Regions from separate parts of the Homo sapiens genome. Here region 1 is linked to region 2. Evidence: promoter capture Hi-C in human tissues and cell types (Jung and others, 2019). All regions are on one chromosome and are shown on one strand. The core of a region is centred on a gene start or on the middle of the fragment in contact, and the rest is flanking DNA. Distances in the headings are between cores, read along the strand shown.

Region 1 (4,795 bases), core at 791-3,290, 150 kb after region 2:
AATACCAGCAATTCTATTCCTAGAATCTCTACAGTGAAACATACAAATATTCACACTAAGTGAGATCAACAAAGATTACAATATCAGTGCAGGTCAGGGTTTTTCTGCAAGACAAGTTTGGTGAAACTTTACAGTTTTTTTCTCTTCATTTTCAAACATTTGGATTTAAGAAATATGGATGGCCAGACACAGTAGCTCACACCTGTGATCCCAGCACTTTGGGAGGCCAAGGCGGGTGGATCACCTGAAGTCAGGAGTTCAAGACCAGCCTGGCCAACATGGTGAAAACTAATAATACAAAAAAATTAGCCGGGCATGGTGCACACCTGTAATCCCGGCTACTCGGGAGGCTGAGGCAGTAAAATTGCTTGAACCTGGGAGGAGGAGGTTGCGGTGAGTCAAGATCGCGCCACTGCACTCCAGCCTGGGCAAGAAGAGCAAAACTCCGTCTCAAAAAATAAATAAATAAATAAATAAATTTTACATATGTATATATGTTAAAAGTATAAAGACAGACCAGGAATGATGAATCCAAAATTCAGTACAATGGCTACTGTCATTGGTGAAGGTGGACATGGTTGCAGTGGATGTGATCAGGAAAGTGCATCCTGCTAAAGTTACACTAATGAATTAGTAAACTGGTTGGTAATTATATGTATGTTTGTTTACATACGCCTTACCTGTTATAATCTTTTGTACTTATCAAATAACTTAAATATTTAAAATACAAAAATTAGTATGGAATACCTAAATACAAACCCACTGTTAGAGTCACCAATTCAGGGAAGTGTCTCAAGAACTCTAGAGAAATTAGCATCAGAGAAATTCAAGGTATTTCCCCATAAATCAAGGACAGGTTGCTATTTAAAAAGAAAGAAAAATGAAAGATGATAGAAGAACTCTTATAAATTAAAGATAACTACTGAAATAAATTTTATAGAAAAGTTCAAAGACAAAATCAAAGAAACCTTTCAGAATGTAAACAAATCCCGTAGATCGTAGACTACAATTGTAGATTACAATCTTCTACAGGAGAATAACCATCAGATCTGCAATGGACCTCTGATTAGCACACCAAGTATTTTAGATTCCCACAGCAAAGTTTTCAAAATTCTGAGGAATTTATAATTCCACATGTAAACTTTCAATCAGGAACAAAGACAAGCCATTTTCAACATTCGAGAACTCAGAAAGTTTATCACCAGCATATCCTTCCAGAAACAACTATTGAAGGCTGTATTCCTGTAAAATAAAAAAGGTATCTAAAAGAGAAAAACATGGGATCCAAATAACAATAGATCTAACCCAGGAGAACAATGTGAAGTAATCCCAGGATGACAGCTGGGTAACAGGTCTACTAAGCTTCCCAAATTAGAAAAGGCAGGCCAAGACTCCGGAAAGTCTACCAAGACAAGCTGAATGGCTACAACATGAGAACCCATTATAATATTAAATTTTAAAAATAACTTCAATGAGCTTTCCTCATTCAACCAGGACTTTGTTATATTTCTTTTTTTTTTTTTTTTCCTGAGACGAAGCCTTGCTTTGTCACCCAGCCTGGAGTGCAATGACATGATCTTGGCTCACTGCAACCTCCACCTCCCGGGTTCAAGCAATTCTCCTGCCTCAGCCTCCCGAGTAGCTGGGATTACAGGTGCCCACCACCACGTCGGGCTAATTTTTGCATTTTTAGTAGAGACGGGGTTTCACCATGTTAGCCAGGCTGGTCTCTAACTCCTGACCTGAGGCGATCCGCCTGCCTGGGCCTCTCAAAGTGCTGGGCTTACAGACGTGAGCCACTGTGCCCGGCTGACTTTGTTATATTTCCTTTTTAAGGATCACAGGTTTAACAGAAGTGAAGTTTCTCTATGGCTCCACAGTACTTGGTTCTATAGTAACTAATACTCATGTCAACATACATATTTAAAAGAGTGGCTATTAGTACTCAATTTCTAGATTTTCCTGCAGAAGCACAGAAAACTTTAGAAGAGTTATAAAACATTATATAAATGCAATAAATCTTGCCAATGTAACAGTACTAACCAAAAACAAAGGCTGGGGCCGGGCTCAGCGGCTCATGCCTGTAATCCCACCACTTTGGGAGGCCAAGGGAGGGGGAGTGGATCACCGGAGGTCAGGAGTTCAAGACCAGCCTGACCAACATGGTGAAACCCTGTCTCTATTACAAATACAAAAATTAGCCAGGCATGGTTGCAGGTGCCTGTAATCCCAGCTAATCGCGAGGCTGAGGCAGGAGAATCGCTTGAACCCAGGAGGCGGAGGTTGCAGTGAGCCAAGATGGCGCCATTGCTCTCCAGCCTGGGCAACAAGAGCAAAATCCTGTCTCAAAAAAAAAAGGAAAAAAGAAAACAAAGGCTAGGAAGGGAGGAGGGAAAAACAAAGGCAAGGTTTGGCTTTTAAATCCCAAAAGGAAAGGGATCGGTGTTATATCTTTTTCTGAAAGACCAGGAAGTGAGGAAATATAGTTGTCTCTCAGTATCCGTAGGGGGCTGGTACCAGGGTCCCCTGCAGATACCAAAATCCAAGAATGCTCAAGTCTCTTACATGAAATGGCATAGTATTTGCATATAAGCTATACACATCCTCCTACGTACTTTACATCATTTCTAGTTTACAATACCTAATATATGGCAAATGCTATGAAATGGTTGTTATACTATACTGTTTAGGAAATACTGACAAGGAAAAAAGTCTGTACATGTTCAGTACAGATGTAACCAACCTTTTTTCCTGAATATTTTTGATCCAAGGTTGGTTGAAACCAAAGATAAGTCATTCACAGACATGAAGGGCCAAATATACTGTCTAAAAGTGATAGGTCAATAAACAGAAATTTATAATAAAAAGTTAAAAATAACAGCAAAATTAGGAACCAAAATGTAACTGATAGAAATCAAAGTCTAGGACAGGTGGAAAATGACCTAAATTTCTTATCTAGCAAAAAGTTAAGAAATATTTTTTTTGAGTTGAAAAAATATAGAGAGAAAGGCATGGTATATTTTTAGACTTTTGGAACAACAATAAAACCCTAAAAACAAACAAACAAAAATGGTTAAAAGCATAATGGGAGTGGGATTTAATGGAAAAGGGAAGACTTTCACTATTTTGAATTTTTTCAGTACTGTCTGCACAAATATTGCTTTCATTTAAAAAATATGAGAAATGGAAATGAGAGAATAAAAAATGTGACATCAGGTGATCCACCCGCCCCAGGCTCCCAAAATGCTGAGATTACAGCCTTGAGCCACTGCGCCCAGCCTATTTCACTTTAAGTTAAATATATTTTGTTTCGAACGTGCTTTCATAGACATGAGCTCAGGTGAAGCCTTGGAAATTTTAGTTGCATCCCATAATAGCTTTGAATCATATGGAAGATTCTGTTATATCTATCATAGCTATTAGTCTGTATCCCTGCCCAATAAATGGGGAGAGGAGCGTGATGAGGACCTCTAACCTCAAATCCCCCATTAACTTCCCATTCTCCTGCTGCATCCTAACAGCACTTGAAGTTATCAGGATGGTGACTCCTGGTAGGTGTAAGGAAACCAAACACTTAAGCCTTCTAGACAGAAGACCTTCTGTTACAGAATTACTTAGGCTTCTTAGCATGAAAGACCCAAATCTGATCTTCGAATTATGACACAACAAATTTACCCAGTTTGGTAAATGTTCTGGTTTACCCAGTATCTATTGATAAAGTTATCATCGCTGGCTCTCTCAGGCCAAATGCACAACCAGATTCTCACAGGCACATTCTCTCTCATTCTGAGACACACACAGAATAAATTCTCAATGCATGAAAAGAAGGGGATGAAGAATACAGAAGGGAGATCCTTAAAAAAAAAAAAAAAGTCACTACAATAGATCCCCCTCCTCCCCATTGAGTGATGAGAAGTAGGGAAAGTAGATTAACCAGGTTAAAGTGTAGCAGGGACCTTTTTGTGAATGACTGCCACCAGCAGACCACAATATTGGAAATATGCAACTGGAAGGGTAAAGAAAAAGCTGCTCTGGTTAAAGAAGAGGTAAGTGATTCCAGAAACTCAACTCCTGCTCTCCTCCATCCCTGTGCTTAGCTCTTCTACAGACTAGTTTGAGACAGGGTCTCCCTCTGTCGCTCAGGCTGGAGTGCAGTGTCAAGATCAGAGCTAGCTGTAACCCAGAAATCCTGGCTTCAAGCGATCCTCTTGCCTCTCAAAGCGCTGGAATTACAGGTGTGAGCTACCAAGCCCTGCCCTCCAGACCATTTTTGGAGGAGGAAGCAAGGCAGCAGTGACAGAAGTTCAGGCCATCAAATCTTATGATCTTGTCCCACATTAATTCACAACTAGTTAATTCAAAATCTGTTCATTCACAAACTAATCACTCCTTCAGCTCCTAACAACACAGATGCCATAAATAAGCAACTGGTAAATTGAGTAATTTCTTCTCTGGCACCTTGAAAGCTTCTAATATATAACACATTATTGTAACCATCTTTGAGCACACAGGCCACATTTTCCCTTTTCAGAGAACTTCCCCACTTCCTTTCCTTCAATCCATCAGGATAATCTGCTGATCAGGTTTGTGTGCTTTGACTCTAAGCCCCCGGCTATGGATGATTAGAACAGAAGTAGAGACCTAAACTCAGCCAATCAGATTCTCTCTCCCAGAAGAACTGGAAGAGAGGTGGGCTGGTATTCTGGTCACCCGGACTGAAAGGCAACAAGGTATAGAGCTGCCATATTCTGCTATGACCAGCCAAGATCTCTGGTACTGGCTCACGCAGCAGTCT
Region 2 (4,618 bases), core at 826-3,325:
AATCAGATCCAAGAAGCCAGGAGACTCCGAAGATGGCCTTTAAAGCCACCAGTGTCAGACAGCACTCAGGAGCTGCCACCAACCAGGGAACGCTCCCTGGGAAGGTCCGGAGCAGCAACTGGCTGTAAACAAATGTTCAGAACAAGGTGCCTCATTACTCCCCAGCTCCGGGGGAGTTACAAGGAGGGGAAACAGCCTAAGTGCTCGGCTTTTCCACTGGACAGCGACACCTAGCAGCGATCCTCACCCTCCCACCTTCGTGGGCAGCCCAGATTGGGAGCACCCATACCTGATGTATCCACCTCACCCAAAGGATGAGAAGAGGGCTGTTTCGTTATGGGGAAGTTTAGAGAAGAAGGTGGGATGCTTACTTAGCTAGAGAGACATTTATTTTCCTATCAACCTAGGGGAGGGGCGGTGAGAGTAGGGAGACACTAGCAGCAAACTAAAAAACAGCCCAGCAGCTAGGAGAGAGGGCTCTTGCCAAGAGAGGCTCTGATATGGGTGTATCCTAGAGCAAGAACCTCCCCTAATCTCTCAAACCAGGCGGAGGAACCCCAAGTGTTTCCTTAAGCCAGCAGAGCCGGCAGAAGGAAGTGGCTGGCATTTCAGTGTATCTTCTGCAAATAGAGAGGCTGAGGCTGTGCCCGAATTGAATTTCTGAGTGACACCTCCTACTGCTCTTTCTCTTGGAGTTTAACCGTGGATTGGGGTGGAGTAGGGGGAGAGCCCAACGAGGGGTTAACTTATGCTGCAGCTCTGACCTTTTGCGCTAAGGATGAGAAAAAAAAAGCCATCTGTTTCAGAAGGAATCAGGTTGTTGAGTTTCACAGATCCAGTGGCTGTGGGATTGTAAGACTTCACTATCACTATCCCTGTCGCATAGCCACAGCCCACACTACCACCCCCACCGAACCCGAAGCTCCTGGAGGGGAAAATGCTTTTTCTCCCAAGGGTCCTTACGAAAGTTCAGGACTCGCGAGGTTATAAACAAACAAACAAACAAACAAACAATCGATACGATTTTGAGCCCTCCGACCCCGGAGTCCAAACAAATGGCCATAGAACTGTGGGTCTGGAGGACACCGCTCCGATCCATGCGGTCTCTCCGGGTATTAAATGGATTTATCGTCAGCCTGGTTGCTTGGAATTCTATTCTGTCCTTCATTTTTCACAGCGGAACAAAGTTGTCTGGACCCTCCAGCCAGCGCTGGGCAGAAGCAAGCAAGGATGCTCTTGGAAACGCGGTGGCCCAAGCCTAAGCGGCCATGCTCGGGGCTAGGAGCGGACCCCACGGCCACTCACCCCGGGGCGCTGCGACCGAAGCTGCCGCGGCCACTGCCACCCGGGGGCTCGCCGGCCGGCTCCGCGCATCCCGCCCTCTCAATGGACTTTCTTACCTCTTAATGTAGTTCCTGCCATACAGGATCTGTTGCAGCAAGGTCACCAAGGCAAAGGCGCAGATGAAGATGAAGAGCAAAGTTCGGCTCCCCAACAAATCCCGGTTGGCCGAGGGGTCCGCGTAGCGCATCCTGGCTACCGGGCGCCGCGGGCGCGGGGTACGGGGCGGCCAGGCAATGACTCGCGGGGTTCCGGGGCCCCGGGGGGCGCGCGGCCGACTTGGCGCCTCACGGTGCGGTCAGGCAGGCGGGGGACTTCGAGGGGCAAAGTTTCTGGTTGGCGCGGCCGGAGCTGGGGGCATCCAAGCGTCGCAGGCGCTGGGGCGGCAAGCAGGACAGGGCCGGTGGCAGGGAGCTCTGCCGCGGCCAGGGGCCTTCCCCACCCCCGGGTACCTTTACCTCCAGGCGCCGGTGCCGGGTAGCCGCCGATTTCCCCGCGGAGGGGAGACGCCAGGTGCCACGAGCCGGAGGCGGCCCCTCCCGCCGAGGTGGCGGCCAATGGGGAGCAAGACCCGGGCTCCGTCCCCTGTGCGCCCCAGCGCGCCGCGCATCGACCCCTCCAGTCCGGCGCCGGATCGCGGTTGCCCAGCGCGCTGTGCCCTGCCGGGGGCGGGCCACGTTTGATCTCCGGGCCCGCAGCAAGGGATCGCGAAGGTTGGCCTCCGGTTCTGCCGATAGGGACGGGGGGAGGGGGCGTACAAAACACCCGCGCAGTCTGGCTAATGATAGGCGGGCCGTGGGGAGGGGGAGGGGCGGAGCGCAAAACGCCGGGTTTGAATCTTGGAATTAAAAAGAGGGCAGGGGCTGGGCGCGGTGGCTCACTCCTGTAATCCCAGCACTTTGGGAGGCCGAGGCGGGCGGATCACAAGGTCAGGAGTTCAAGACCAGCCTGGCCAATATGGCGAAAACCCGTATCTACTAAAAATACAAAAAACAAAATTAGCCAGGCGTGGTGGCACGCGCCTGTAGTCCCAGCTACTTGGGAGACTGAGGCAGAAGAATCGCTTGAACCTGGGAGGCGGAGGTTGCAGTGAGCCGGGATCGCGCCACTGCACTCCAGCCTGGGCGACAGAGCGAGACTCCGTCTCAAAAAGAAAAAAAAAGAAAAAAAAGAGGGCAGGAAGAGGAAACAACAGTTGCGGAGCTGGACTTGATGGAAGGGAGCATTTGCGTGCGGCGCGCAGGGCACTGAGTCACCATCGTGGCCGCGTCCTCGCGCTCTCCTAGCGATTTCTCCGGAGAAAGCGGAGCAAGGTCAGCCGGGCAGCCCTTCAAGGACGGCGCGCCGCTCCTGCATGCTGATGGCCTGCGGGGCTGCCTGCCCGTGCCCCGGCGCCCAACTCCTACAAGGAAGAAATTCAGGGGCTCCCCGCCCCCGCCACAGTCCTCTTCCCCCTCCCCAGCTGCAACTCGGCAGCCGTTCGTCAAAGACCCTGTTGTCACCGAGACACTGGGACCTTGTCTCATCCTTGGAACCACTCGTAAATCTTAGGTCAGGCAGCCGGCAGCCTTCGGGGACCACAGTCCCCCCAAAGCTTTAGGAAGCCAGTTACTACATCCGGAAAGATTCGTGCTTCAGAACGCAAGCCAGGGAGAATAATCACAGAAACGCAATGCGAATGTCGTGCCTCTCAGAAATTCTTAGCCTGAAATACCGTCCCCACCCCCCAACCCGGCCAGGCGACAGTCCTGTCATCCTAACACCGCAGAGGCTCCAAGCGCTGGGAGTCGTGTGCCCGCGGCGCTCGCCACTGAGGCCGGTTGGAAGATTCTAGGGTGCCCCTTCCCAGGTTCCAGCAGGCACTCCGGGATGTTCTAGAGTCAGGCCAGGGATTCAACAGCGAACCTGACCGAAACTCAAACCTCAGCACAAGAACTTTGATGGGGGAAGTGCCCAGACTCCAATACTCTCGACCTTGGCATTTAGTAGTTTCTTCTTTGAACTGGAAAGATCAAATAATGCACAGTAAAATCTCATGATAAGGGTTCCACCAAGAATTCGGGATTTGTGTTAATTCATAAGGCAGAAGTGGCCCCTGTGCTATCCATGAAGAGTTTCTGTATTTCTCTGCAAGGTCACAGGTAGGCTTTTTTTTTTTTTTTTTTTTTTTTTTTTTTTTTTTTTTTGAGACGGAGTCTCGCTCTGTCGCCCAGGCCGGACTGCGGACTGCAGTGGCGCAATCTCGGCTCACTGCAAGCTCCGCTTCCCGGGTTCACGCCATTCTCCTGCCTCAGCCTCCCGAGTAGCTGGGACTACAGGCGCCCGCCACCGCGCCCGGCTAATTTTTTGTATTTTTAGTAGAGACGGGGTTTCACCTTGTTAGCCAGGATGGTCTCGATCTCCTGACCTCATGATCCACCCGCCTCGGCCTCCCAAAGTGCTGGGATTACAGGCGTGAGCCACCGCGCCCGGCCACAGGTAGGCTTTTTAACCAATTAAAGAAAAACTCCAACATTTAGAGGGCCCATTATTATAATAATTCCTGTATTTGTTTGCTGTCTGGCACATAAAAACGTGCTTCACTTGCATATATTAATGAATTTTCACCTCCTAGCCCCTGGCTAACCCATTTTACAGCTGAAAGGACTAAAGCAACAGATGCCCAAAGTAACTCACCTAGCAACAAGTCTTGGGATTCTGAGATGAGGTTCTTTCTCCCACACACACAGGCAGGCTGGCTTCTTGGGAGTGGGACTTGTTCATTTGTCCCCACCACCACCATTGATTTTGACTGATTGCTCCACTCTTGCTGTCTTCAAACTTTTGAACAAGGGGGTTTGCATTTCTCTTTGCACTGGGCCAAATTATGAGGTAGGTCCTACACACAGGCTCCAAGATGACAGTACTAATTTTTCACTAATTTTTCTCTACTTGGTGCTCAAGTGTAGAGTTTGAGGGGTACTATCATCTTCACTCCAGGCAAGGCACTGTTGTTTCTTTTGTATTCCTGCTTATTCTCCACCCCATCAGGTGCTCACTCTGATACCTGTCTTTGAGTGCTGTTTTCTTGGAAAAACAAATCTATTTTCAAGAAATGAATCAAAATTATCCTAAGAACTTTTTAATTGCAATATAATGCATTTACAGAAAAGTACACAAATCATAAATGTTCAGGTCGCTGTGTTTTCACAAGCTGAACACACCCATGTAACCAGTACACAGATCAATTATCGGCCCCCAGGAGTCCCCTCATGTTCCTATCTGGTTACTATGTACT

What was found. The method cuts DNA at HindIII sites, captures the fragments that hold promoters and counts their contacts. A contact is called where the count stands out against the background at its distance.
Region 1: a contact is called between a fragment that was not itself captured here and the fragment with the promoter of ST8SIA5 in region 2, in 1 of the 25 tissues and cell types used here (hippocampus).

The regions. Positions count from the first base shown.
Region 1 is chr18:46,909,705-46,914,499 of GRCh38, forward strand. The region is part of intron 1 of PIAS2 (protein inhibitor of activated STAT 2); the gene reads right to left. Among named protein-coding and RNA genes, the nearest start is that of PIAS2, 5.4 kb to the right of the region's middle. RefSeq lists enhancers at 1,200-1,701, 1,702-2,201. The HindIII fragment of the contact is 6,307 bases long and covers 1-4,795 here.
Region 2 is chr18:46,754,978-46,759,595 of GRCh38, forward strand. It overlaps ST8SIA5 (ST8 alpha-N-acetyl-neuraminide alpha-2,8-sialyltransferase 5), which reads right to left and starts at 2,076. Exons shown (of 7, transcript NM_013305.6): 1 at 1,401-2,076. The coding sequence starts at 1,531. ST8SIA5-DT (ST8SIA5 divergent transcript) reads left to right here and starts at 2,466. Exons shown (of 3, transcript XR_001753434.3): 1 at 2,466-3,482; 2 at 3,820-4,618. RefSeq lists a silencer at 1,659-2,048. The HindIII fragment of the contact is 8,707 bases long and covers 1-4,618 here.